Linked DNA regions of Homo sapiens: all the other regions are linked to region 3. Evidence: promoter capture Hi-C in 16 types of primary human blood cells and fetal thymus (Javierre and others, 2016). All regions are on one chromosome and are shown on one strand. The core of a region is centred on a gene start or on the middle of the fragment in contact, and the rest is flanking DNA. Distances in the headings are between cores, read along the strand shown. Region 1 holds the start of HSPA4 (heat shock protein family A (Hsp70) member 4). Region 2 overlaps AFF4 (ALF transcription elongation factor 4). Region 3 holds the start of RAD50 (RAD50 double strand break repair protein).

Region 1 (3,961 bases), core at 1,062-3,561, 500 kb before region 3:
GGCTGACGCAGGAGAATCGCTTGAACCCAGGAGGCGGAGGCTGCAGTGAGCCGAGATTACGCCACTGCACTCCAGCGTAGGGAACAGAGTAAGACTCCTTTTCTCAAAATAAATAAATAAATAAATAAACCTTAATAGGGCTGTTAACAAGACTAAACTCAGCAAAGGGACAGCAAACTACCGTTTTGGCTTCTGGGATGAGTTTTCAGGGGAAGCACCTGGGTTAGGAGGTGGGGGGTGCGGAAATTTGACAAGTGGAAAGGAAATGTGAGACTTCTGAACAATCTAGTTTCGCTGAAACCTGCTGAAGAAATGTGACAAAAATTGAGGGTGAAAATAATGGACCTTAGAATTGAGCCCCTGGGGCCGGGCACCGTGACTCACGCCTGTAATCCTAGCACTTTGGGAGGCCGAGGCGGGAGGATCACTTGAGGTCAGGAGTTCGAGACCAGCCTGGGCAACTCGACAACACCCCGTCTCTACTAAAAATACAAAATTTAGCCGGGCATGGTAGCACGCGCCTGTAATCCCAGCTCCTCAGGAGACTGAGGCAGGAGAATCGCATGAACCCCAGAGGCCGAGGTTGCAATGAGCCGAGAGCATGCCACTGCACTCCAGCCTGGGGCGACAGAGCGAGACTCCATCTCAATCAATCAATAACAAGTGAGCCCCTGGGCAGGGCACGGTGGTTCATGCCTGTAAGCCCAGTACTCCAGAAGGCCGAGGCTGGAGGACTGCTTGAGTCCAGAAGTTCGAGACCATCCTGAGTGACATAGTGAAACCCGATTTCTACTAAAAATAAATAAAATTAGCCAAGCATGGTGGCGCACGCCTGCAACGCCAGCTACTCAGGAGGCTGAGGTGGGAGAATCACCTGAGCCAGGAGCCAGGGAGGTCGAGGCTGCAGTGAACCAAGATCGCACCACTGCACTCCAGCCTGGGCAGCCAGAGTGAGACCCTGTCTGTCTCAAAAAAGAAAAAAAAAAAAAAAAAAAGAAGAGAGACCCTGAATGGCAAATAATACAGAACTTCTTACAAGATTTTGTCTAAGAACACGACAACGGATTAAAATGTATCTACAAGTATTCAAAAGGCAGACACTGTAACCAGTGAAAGACCTGAGTGACCCACCATTTTTTAGAACTGTGTCTATGCTGGTCCCAAAACTTACTATGGGTTCTAGAAGTCAAGGCGGGCCCTTGAGCCACTAACAATTGTGGCCAACACACTGGTTAGAATGCATTATCGTTAAAGTGCAACCCTATTGAGGGGTTAACGCGCACAAAACAGAGAGTGACCCAATATAGCACAATATCCCGAAATAATGTGGAAAACAAAAGCGATTGCAAAGTTATCATAAGAGCACCGATTTTATTAAATTCCTATCCGTGCCAACCCAATCTCAAGACCCCGAGTCCATCCGGAACCCGTGCCTGAGGCTGCTCCAGCTCGCTCTCTTCCGGGCGCTGCCCCGCCCCCACTCACGTGGGACGCTGACCGCTCCACGGTCTCGCGGCTGGCAAGCCCCAGAACCCGTTCGATTCAACTATTATTAAGCGCCTGCTGTGTGCAAAGTTCTGAGCTTTCTGTTGGACTCAAAAGACTCAGTACGACCTGGGCCTGGTCTCTGCCCTCAAGAAAAGGACCGCGATCCGTTTACATCCTAGGCCTGCAGTCCTTCCAGTTCCTACCCGTGCCCTCCGCTGGTCCGAGTACCGGCCAGAAGCCTTTCTTCGGCCGACGGGCCACCGGGGAAAAGGCCCTCGCGCTTAGCACACACCCACGCTCATAGTGGGCCGCGGCCCCTAGTGTCCTAATACCTACTGGGGGTCCCTGACCTACCGGGACCTCGGCTCGGAACGGAGGCGACTCCTCGGCCCGCGTTCCCCAAGCAGCGAGGGTCCCAGACTGGAACAAGCATTATCTCCTAACCCCAGTGCACGCGGCAGGCCCGGCCCACACTTACGGCGTGCAGCGGTCGCTATACTCATTAGCGATAGTCTCGATGCCGCCGGCGCGGGCCACAGCGACGTAGCAGCTCTGGAAGCCCAGGTCTATGCCCACCACCGACATGGCGCCGGCTACTGCTCGGGCTCGGGCCCGGGTCCGGCCACCGAGACAGGACACGGACCCCCGGCGGGGCTAGCGAGTGGAAAGCAGGCCTCTTGGGCCGAGGCTACTGAGGGGCTTGCGGTGTCCACGCGAGCGCCTAAGTCCTTCCAGTGGGTACTGCAACCGAGAGCGCTGCTCAGGCCGGCTCCGGCTCAGTGGCCGCAGAGGAGGCGCCGGTAGCGGGGGCGGAGAAGATCTCGAAAGATCTCGTTGCGACGAGAGCGGAGCCGCAGCACCAGAGCTACGAAAGAACGGGATGTTCTCGCGATATCCCGGCTCAGGCGCTTTTCCCCTTGAGGCCCCGCCCCCAGTACGTCTGAATACGTCACGTCCTGGCTCGAGAACCTGGGAAAGGACTGGGTGGCTGAAAGATGGCTGGAAAGCGCATTTAGCCAACCGAGCCTGCGCATGGAACCTGCGGCGCTGCACAGCTGCATAGAGATGTGGAGCACCTCCCTTTACCGTAGAAAGTAGGCGAGCCAGCTCGAGGCACTATACTGAGGAAGCGCTGCGGCCTACTTCCGCCGTTTTTCTTAACATCAAAGAAACTTCCGGTAGTGGGGTGTCTTGCATTCCACCGTGTCGGTGCCCCAGAATGAGACGCAAGCTGATCTGCAGATCCCGCAGGGTGCCTTCTGCTCTTTTCGGGGCAGGTTGGCCGGTAGGGGAGAAGGCCGCCATTGGAACGCGGCCTTTATGTCGGGTTCTCTCAAGAGTCTAAGATCGCACCCTCACCAGCGGAGGGAAGGAGCCCACTCCCAGCCACACCGCTTTGTTTTCTTTCGCTTAGCCTTGTTGCGCCGTTCTCTAAGCCACTCATGTCCTTAGATCAGATTGAGGGGCCCGCAGGATTTAAGCCTTTAATCCACAGCACATTCCAAGCACCTACCCGGTGGTAGGCCCTAACAAGGAACACAGGCAAGTGACACGCTGCCTGGCCTGAAAGGTCCGCTCAGACCTTTACATGAAGTTAATAAATGTTAAGCTTCAGGGCCCCTCGCTTGTATGGCCTCCTGGGAGAATAGATAGTTGCTGAGTTGTGGAGAGGGGAAGCCAGCTTGAGATTAGGAAGCAAATCTATGTAAGCATTTCTAATAAATTACCCAGAGAGATCTAAGGAGAATCTGAATCTCCAAGTCTCTAGTAATGTGTTGTGATTTGTCGTTTTAATTATTTGTTTTGTGTATTTGTAGGGCCCCCCAATGGTATATAAGTTTCACCTCTGCAAAACCTGGATCATCCCCATCATGAGGGTGGCTAAACAAGTAAAGGTGACCCCAGTACAGAATGGCGAGTGCTATATGCACAGAATGGTGGAGACTAGGACAACTTCCCAGAAAAGGAAAAGGCTGTGTTCAAGTTTGGAAAACTAGCAATAGAGACCATAGTTTAAGGACTAAAAAGAAATTCTCCGTTGCTGGAGGGTACATCATGAGTTGAAGGTCTCAAGGCTAGAGTACCTGCCCTTCAGCCATTTTAAAAGTGAATGAGCAAAGAAGAAATTACATTGCCCTGGTATGCCCTTCCCTTTAAATACCTGCATTTCCTGCCACCTCCGGAGGTACTTCACTCTATAGGAGCAACCCCAAACCCGGGTTGATTACCATTAAAACTTGCAAATGGCCACACTGTTCTCACATTTTGCCTAACTAAAACCTGTTAATTCTTCAAAGACAAGTACCAGGTGCTACCTGTAAAAGGGTACTGGGAATAAAAAGAGTAGAGGCAGCCAGGAACAGCCTTTGGAAAAACGAGAGCAGGGACATATTTGTACATTGTATACCCATGTTCATAGTAGTTTATTCACGGTAGCTAAAAGGAGGAAACAATCCACATGTCCATTGACAGA
Region 2 (3,823 bases), core at 6-2,505, 330 kb before region 3:
GCTTGGGAAGGTAGGTAAAATTTTATTATGTAAAATATTATTGTGGCAATAAAAGTGAAATGAGTATGGTCCAATTTCCAAAAATGGAAAGATGACTACTTTTTAAATAAGTAAAACCATCTCTGATAAAATATTTTTAGAAGTTATAATTTTTTCTCTGTATTTTTTAGGAATTGAAAATATAAATGAACATAATCATAAAGATTAGATATGAGACGTTTCACCTGTTAAGAAATCTGAGTTTTTACTAGCACTCAACCCTTTTCACAGTTTGATTTCCATAGTTACTTGGACTTATCACAGCAGGCTTATCTTTAGTCAGATCTTGGCACTGCCAGAATTTAGTAACAATGACATGATTGTGATTTCTCCTTCATCTCCACGTCACTTTCATCCCACCTATCTCCCAAAGGATAAAAAACACCATGGAACCTTTTAAATTGTATCTGTTCAGTTATTATGTTTATAAGAATTGACATTCTTTGTCCTGTGTGTATTTTCTTACATAAGTTTATAATGCTAAAAGTGCAGATAAAAATACAAACAAGCCGGGCATGGTAGCTCACGCCTGTAATCCCAGCACTTTGAGAGGCCGAGGTGGGCAGATCACAAGGTCAGGAGTTCAAGACCAGCCTGGCCAACATGGTGAAACCCCATCTGTGCTAAAAATACAAAAATTAGCCGGGTGTGGTGTCGTGCGCGCCTGTAATCCTAGCTACTCTGGAGGCTGAGGCAGGAGAATCATTGGAACCAGGGAGGCGTGGAGGTTGCAGTAAGTCGAGGTCATGCCACTGCACTCCAGCTTGGGTGACAGAGCATGAGTGTCTCCAAAATATGTATATATGTGTATACACAAGTTTATTTTTACCCCAACTTTTGATTTTTCCTTTCTTTTAGTGTGTGATCATAGTCTTGAACATTTCACAAATTTTAATACTCCTGAAATGAACCTGCCAGATTTCAACATGTATGTTTTCTAAGAAATATTTAATTGGCAGGAAGCTTGGGGTGATTACAGTTGCTTGAGAGAGCTGTACCTCTTTGTTACCTCTGAGTAATTTGGTTAAACTAGGAAAGTGTCAGAAATTGTGGAGTTCAATAAAAGATGTTCCCATCTTCTACCACAGTTTTTTAGGTTAAATGTGAATTCCACCAAACTTTCTACAAAACAGTATAAAAAATATGTAATTATATGCCCGAACAGATGGAAAGTGTTGAGCAGAGAGTGAGGGGATCTGGCTTTTAAGTCTTTGAACTGTAACAAGGTACATGACTTCTTCAGTTATTGTCCATCTCTTGTTTTGTTGTTATTCATTAAAACAAAGGCTACAGATTCTAAGATAACAAGATTATGAATTACAAGATTATAGTACTTATTTAGAAGAAATTGTAGCTCTCTGAAAACCCATCTAGTTTAAGAGAATCTTTACATTTTAAATGCTTTCATGTAGAAAGAGCTAGTAGTACTTGATTTTATAATGCTTACCATGTCCATATGAACAAGCTTCCTATTTCTGTTGTGTAGCAAAGCTGTGGGGATGCCTTCCCCTGTTTCTCCAAAGCTGTCACCAGGCAATTCAGGAAATTATTCATCTGGGGCCAGTAGTGCTTCTGCAAGTGGTTCTTCAGTGACCATTCCACAGAAGATCCACCAGATGGCAGCCAGCTATGTTCAGGTCACATCCAACTTCCTCTATGCCACCGAAATTTGGGACCAAGCTGAACAGCTTTCCAAAGAGCAAAAAGGTAGGTAGGTTTCTGGATAAACTTCAAGGGATGGAATTGTTAGAAGGAACTTTTATAATTTAGTTAAGTAAGCGTTTAGTCTGTATTTAGTTTTATTATTTAGAGTTAATGATAATCTGTTTGTTAATAGTCTTCATTGCTTAGCAGTTAAACAATAAATGAAACTGAATTTGGTCAAAAGATACCTCTCATGATTCTGGTGACAAAACTAAACTGAAAATAGTTCTTGGACTAAGACAAATGTGCTTATATTCTGGCACATTAAATGCAGCTCATACCATAAAAGTAATAAAATATATGTCCTACCCTAGGATGGTTAACAGTAAATTTGGCAATAGGCATAAGATTACATCCAAACATCTGTACATCTGAGAAGGTTAATGTATAAGAAAGCATGCTCATACTGGATTTTTAGGTATATTGGAAGAAACCTGTGAAATAAAGGAGACTAGGGAATGAATAGAAATTTTTTTTTTTTTTTTTTTGAGATGGAGTTTCGCTTTTGTTGCCCAGGCTGGAGCACAGTGGCACGATCTCGACTCACTGCAGCTTCCACCTTCCGGTTTCAAGTGATTCTCCTGCTCAGCCTCCTGAGTAGCTGGGATTACAGGTGCCCGCCACCATGCCCGGCTAATTTTTGTATTTTTAGTAGAGATGGGGTTTCACCATGTGAACCAGGCTGGTCTTGAACTGCTGACCTCGTGATCTGCCCATCTCAGCCTCCCAAAGTGCTGGGATTACAGGTGTGAGCCACCACGTCCGGCCAGAATTCTTAACATTCTTTAAAATTAGGTTGTTTGAGGCTTTGCCCTTTAAAAGTTTATTATTTCCCAAACCAAGGACATGGAGAATTATAAAGTCTTTGAAGACCTTAGTGGAAAGTACTGTATAACCACCATTTTATTTAGTAGATGTTATTAGCAAATATGTGCATGCAGCTTCTCTTTAGGCAGATCCTTTACAGAGAAACACTACATTAGCCAATCAAGTGTCATTTTGTCACAGAGTACATTTAAATACTTACAGCGTGAACAGGTAATCAGATGAAAATGAAAGATTCCTATCCCTAAAGAGAGGCAATGGTGAAAGGTAAAAGTGGAATCCCAACTTTTTTTTTTTTTTTTTTGAGACAGGGTTTTACTCTGTCACCCAGGCTGCCCAGGCTGTGGCACAGTCACAGTTCACTGCAGCATCTACCTCTTGGGCTCAAGTGATCCTCGTGCCTCAGCCTCCTGAGTAGCTGGGACTACAGATGTGTGCCACCACACCTGGCTAATTTTTCTACTTTTTGTAGAGATAAGGTCTCATTATGTTGCCCAGGCTAGGAATCCCAACATTCAACATAAAGCTGTATTTATAAAAACATAATTTGTGGCCGGGTGTGGTGGCTCACACCTTGTAATCTCAGCACTTCGGGAAGCCAAGGCGAGTGGATCACCCAAGGTCAGGAGTTCGAGACCAGCCTGGCCAACATGGTGAAACCCCATCTCTACTAAAAAAAAAAAAAAAAAACTTTTTTGTATTTTATATTTGGCTGAGGCAGCAGAATCGCTTGAACCCAGGAGACCAGGGTTGCAGTGAACCGAGATCGCGCCACTGCACTCCAGCCTGGGCGACAGGGAGACTGTCTAAAAATAAATGAAAATAAATAAAAACATGGGATTTAGTTATCAGTTGGTTCATGGCATATGATGGTAGCCGAAAGTTTGATATAATCTTAAGTGTCTAACCTCACAGAGGCTGTTACAGGAAACAGGCAAAGAATGTCCTCCTTTTTGTGTCACTTGCTTCTTATACAAAAGCAATGCACAAAATGTTTTGAGTAATCAGTAGCACATTATGGCATTAAATCTTCATTTTAATAATATCTACTGCATAATAGCAATTTATCATTTCCATTCATGGAATCCTGCTTATATATAACACTTAATTTCTGACCATACATTCTGTTTAAAATGTTGCATGACTTAGGGAACAAATGTAACTTGAGAGACTATGGAATGATTTGCTCTAAAACATGGACAGTAAGCATTTTAGTGTAGGAGGAGGTATTTTTTGAGTTTATGAATGCTGTTTT
Region 3 (4,343 bases), core at 1,542-4,041:
GAAAGCAATCTAATGTAAGAAAATTACATAACTACTAAAGTGTTCATGCACTTTAAGTAGAAAATATCTCAGACATACAAAGCAGTATAAAGATTAAAAGAAACACTTACATACCAAACACCCAGATGATAGTTTTTTAATGACATAGGACTTCATGATAATGTTAAGTGGGGAAAAAAACCCAGAATACAAAATTAAGAGTATGACATCAGCTATATAAAACAGTATTTAAAGGAGGAGGAAAACACATGAAAATGTCAACAACGGTTACTACTGGGTGCTAAAACTGTGTGGGGCTGACTTTCATTTCTCTTTATAGTTTTCCAGTGCCAAGTTTTCTATAATAAGCTATTATCATTTTTATAATTATAAAAATACAAAATTGTACTAGCACCATTACCTTGGGATCGTGTACAAATGTATTTCCTTTGGTTCCAGGAGGGAAATCTCCAGTACAAATATATTTTAGACATTCAATGATGGTCTAAAGAAATAGAAAATTACATTATTTCGTTATAAGAGAACCACAGAAGTTTACCATAAAATATGAATTCATTACAAAAATATTATTTATCATGGAAACTATAAAAGATAAAATCTGACATTATAAAACCTGTAATAAAAATATGATTAAGTGTTAATGCTGTAAGTTCACAGAAATGCTATATAACTAAGAAGTTATCCTAATATGAAGAATTGTTACTTGGGAAAAAAATAATTATTTTCAACTGAAACCCTTTAAACTAATTTAAGTTAATAATAAGAATGGCTAACAGTTAAGTACTGTATTGTACTAAGCACTCTTACATACATTTATTTAATTCTCACATTAACTCCAGGCTGTAGGAACTTTTTGTTTAAGAGACAGGGTCTCATTCTGCTGCCCAGGCTGCAGTGCAGCTGCATGATCATGGCTTACTGCAGCCTCGACCTCTCGACCTCCTGGGCTCAAGCAATCCCCCAGCCTCAGCCTCCCAAACGGCTCGGATTACAGTCGTCAGCCACCATGCCCAGCCTGTAGAAACTTTTTTTTTTTTTTTTTTTTTTTTGTGGGGGGAGAGAGTCTCCCTCTGTCACCCAGGCTGGTGTAGTGCAATGGCGTGATCTCGGCTCACTGCAACCTCCACCTCCCCGGTTCAAGCGATTCTCCCGCCTCGGCCTCCCCAGTAGCTAGGATTACAGGCATGCGCCACCACGCCTGGCTAATTTTTGTATTTTTATTAGAGATGGGGTTTCGCCACGTTGGCCAGGCTGGTCTCGAACTCCTGACCTCAGGTGATCCACCCGCCTCGGCCTCCCAAAGTGCTGGGATTACAGGCGTGAGCCACCGTGCCCAGCTGTAGAAACTATTTTTAATCTCCATTTTATAAATGAGAAAACTAAGGCACAGAGCAGTGAGGTCACTCGCAAACAATCAGACAACTAATAAATGAAGCGAAAAAGCTGTATTGAGGCAGCCAGTCCTCATAAACACTATACAGTACTACTCTCCCTTCTGCTAGTATTTAGTACAATCCTAAGTACATAACAAGCATTCAACAAATAACATTTTTACAAAAACAAAAGTAAACAAGTTTGGCATTCAATTCTCAACCTTCTCTCTTTCTACACTCTTCACAAATCCTTCCTTTAGACTCTTCTCCCTGCTATACTGACATCGTCTTGCTTTTTCTTAAGCCACTATTCCTGACCAGAATGCCTCTTGGTTATTCTTTCCATTCAAATTTATAAATATTCCCACGGCTTTAAAAAAAAAAAAAAGTCAGTCGTGCACCAACGTTAAATTTTTGACTGAGTTTTAAGAAGAGAAGTTTTCCAAGTTAAGCCCCACTACATCAGTTACATTTTGAATTTATTTATTTTCCATGTATTATGTCTGGACAGTTGGCATACTTGGAAACTCTTTAGTCATGTATGTATCATTTTATAACTTTTAAAGGAATTCTTGTATGGGACAACTACTGGGAAGTGAATGCTATGCTTTGAAAGCAAGGAGACAGCGTTAAAAACATCAATACAGACCAAAGGGCATCCAGTGGGAACTGAACTCTGAGTGAGCGGCGACAGCTCCCGGTATCGTGGGATTCTTAAGTAAACCTTGTCCCCAGGCCAGGTCCGGACATCCTTCCGAGACTGCTTCAGGCAAACTCCTAAGGTCGCTGTAGCCTGCAGGCCACACCCTAAGGCACTTTAAGGGCCTACACCTGTGGAGCCCTAGGGACGCTTCTGCTCCTAAGGAGAGTTCTCAACTTCCCATTTTATTCTCCGAAAGATGTAGCGACCTGTAAACTGAAGGCGGCTACTGAAGACTTACCGTCTTTCCCGCCCCATTGGGTCCAACCAAAATTGTAAGGGGGCTGAAGAAAGTGATAATTTGCTTATCTTTGTCCTCTATTCCAAAACTCCGCACGCCCAGAATGCTCATCTTTTCGATCCGGGACATGTTTGCAAACGTTTCTAATCTCACCAGGGACCTGGAGCCCACAAAGGCTTAACTGAGGCCGAAGCAAGGCGTGCACGGGACGTGAGACCCGCGAATCTCAGGGTCAGGAGGATCCGGGCGGGGAGCGAGGCCACAGGACTGCCAAAAGATCCTGCCAGCCAACAGCGGGAGAGAGGGGGCGGGGGATGGAGCCTTTCCTCCCACACCAGCTGCTTTCCCCGCCGGTGGGGAGAGCGGAGGCGGGGACCAGCCTGGGGCTGCCCGCCGGGGACGCAAAGCCGTAGCCACAATGCGACCCCGCAACCGCGCACTCACAGCTTCCTGCCTCGGCCGCCCTGCGGATCACGTGGGCCTCTAGGCCCGCACGCGTCCACGCCGCTCTCCTGGGGCACGCCGGGAAATCAGAGTCCCGCGGTGCGTGCGCAGCTCCGACTTCCGGGTGCGGTACGGCGAAGCAGAGGGCTAGGTGCTGGGTGCTGTTGCCAGGGGCAGCGGACTTCCGGATCTTTGCTGGGGATGGGCAGCCTGGAGAGGCACTGACTTTTGGAAGGGGAGACCAAGACCTGTGACGGATGGCGCTTCCCAAAGCTTGATCCTGGGACTCCTGGAATGGGGGTAGTGGTGGGGTGGATTGGAGACCCAGGAAGCGGGGTCAGTTCGTGTCAAAACTATTTTCCTTTTCATTCTCATTCTCTCTCTAACGTTCGTGTAGTAATTTCCAGTGATCACATAACATGTGATGACGCCATTGCAGTGGCGGTTAATGGAATGTGCGCATGTGTATTCTTGCGCTTAGAAATACCAATTTTAATTTCTAATTGAGTAAATGTTGATAATTATAACTCACGTACACGCTCTTTGAGGTCCCCCGTAATTTTTTAGTGTAAAGGCGTCTTTAAGACCAAAAGTCTGGGAACTAAAACTAAAAGCAGTCTGCAAATATGAAGAATGTAGAGGTAATCCATTCCGATCAGTGCTCCCAGCAATAGATATCTTTAAAAATAAGGGAAAGAGAAGTTACCTGTCTCAGAAGTAACTGAGAATATTGCTTTCTTGGAAACAAACTTAATGGAGGGATATCACATTTAAGGGCCTAGAGAAACATACATAAAAATTACTGAAACAATAGTGGAGGACATTTAAATGAAACACAAATTTGGAATTACTGTAGTGGTATAATTTGCCTCTGCCTGCCTTGGAAAAATGTAGGAAATGTTTCTCCAGTCATACAATCCCAAGCAAATAATTTACAGAACCTAATACATAAATGTATGTGCCAAAGGATGCAAGTGGGGAAGACCAGTGAGAAATAGTCTCTTGCTGTACCAGGTTAAAAAAAACCGGAAAGTGTCAGTTATTACAAAATAGTTAAAATAACTAATGGAACAAAACATTAAAATTATATAGGAATGTCTTACTTGGCAAAGCAAATGTAATAAAACAATGGGAAAAGACGAAAGACCTTTTTTTATTTTAAAAATTGTAAAATACACATAAAATTTACTGTCTTGGCCAGGCGCGGTGGCTCACGCCTGTAATCCCAGCACTTTGGGAGGCCGAGACGGGTGGATCACGAGGTCAGGAAATGAAGACCATCCTGGCTAACACGGTGAAACCCCGTCTCTACTGAAAACACAAAAAATTAGCCGGGCATGGTGGCAGGCGCCGATGGTCCCAGCTACTCAGGAGGCTGAGGCAGGAGTATGGCATGAACCCGGGAGGCGGAGCTTGCAGTGAGCCGAGACCGCACCACTGCACTCCAGCCTGGGCAACAGAGCGAGACTCCGTCTCAAAAAGAATTTACTATCTTAACCAAGTGTACATTTCAGTGGTGTTAAGTATACTCACGTACAACCGTCACCACCTTTCAACCTCTACAAATCTTTTCACTTTGCAAAAC

The links. Contacts are between HindIII fragments. The CHiCAGO score rates a contact against its expected background, and 5 or more counts as called.
Region 1: the fragment with the promoter of HSPA4 here is called in contact with the fragment with the promoter of RAD50 in region 3 in 1 of 17 cell types (fetal thymus); the score reaches 6.4 in fetal thymus.
Region 2: a contact is called between a fragment that was not itself captured here and the fragment with the promoter of RAD50 in region 3, in 1 of 17 cell types (erythroblasts). The highest score is 5.1, in erythroblasts.

The regions. Positions count from the first base shown.
Region 1 is chr5:133,050,363-133,054,323 of GRCh38, reverse strand. It overlaps HSPA4 (heat shock protein family A (Hsp70) member 4), which reads right to left and starts at 2,311. Exons shown (of 19, transcript NM_002154.4): 1 at 1,967-2,311. The coding sequence starts at 2,073. RefSeq lists enhancers at 135-1,097, 2,336-2,515, 2,706-2,755, 2,826-2,875, 2,062-3,024. The HindIII fragment of the contact is 9,846 bases long and covers 1-3,099 here.
Region 2 is chr5:132,881,263-132,885,085 of GRCh38, reverse strand. It overlaps AFF4 (ALF transcription elongation factor 4), which reads left to right. Exons shown (of 21, transcript NM_014423.4): 19 at 1-10; 20 at 1,526-1,746. Among named protein-coding and RNA genes, the nearest start is that of LEAP2, 9.5 kb to the right of the region's middle. The HindIII fragment of the contact is 502 bases long and covers 1,005-1,506 here.
Region 3 is chr5:132,555,425-132,559,767 of GRCh38, reverse strand. RAD50 (RAD50 double strand break repair protein) reads right to left here and starts at 2,791. Exons shown (of 25, transcript NM_005732.4): 1 at 2,315-2,791; 2 at 401-484. The coding sequence starts at 2,443. It also overlaps a transcript of IL5 not described here. RefSeq lists an enhancer at 2,508-3,168. The HindIII fragment of the contact is 3,439 bases long and covers 1-3,033 here.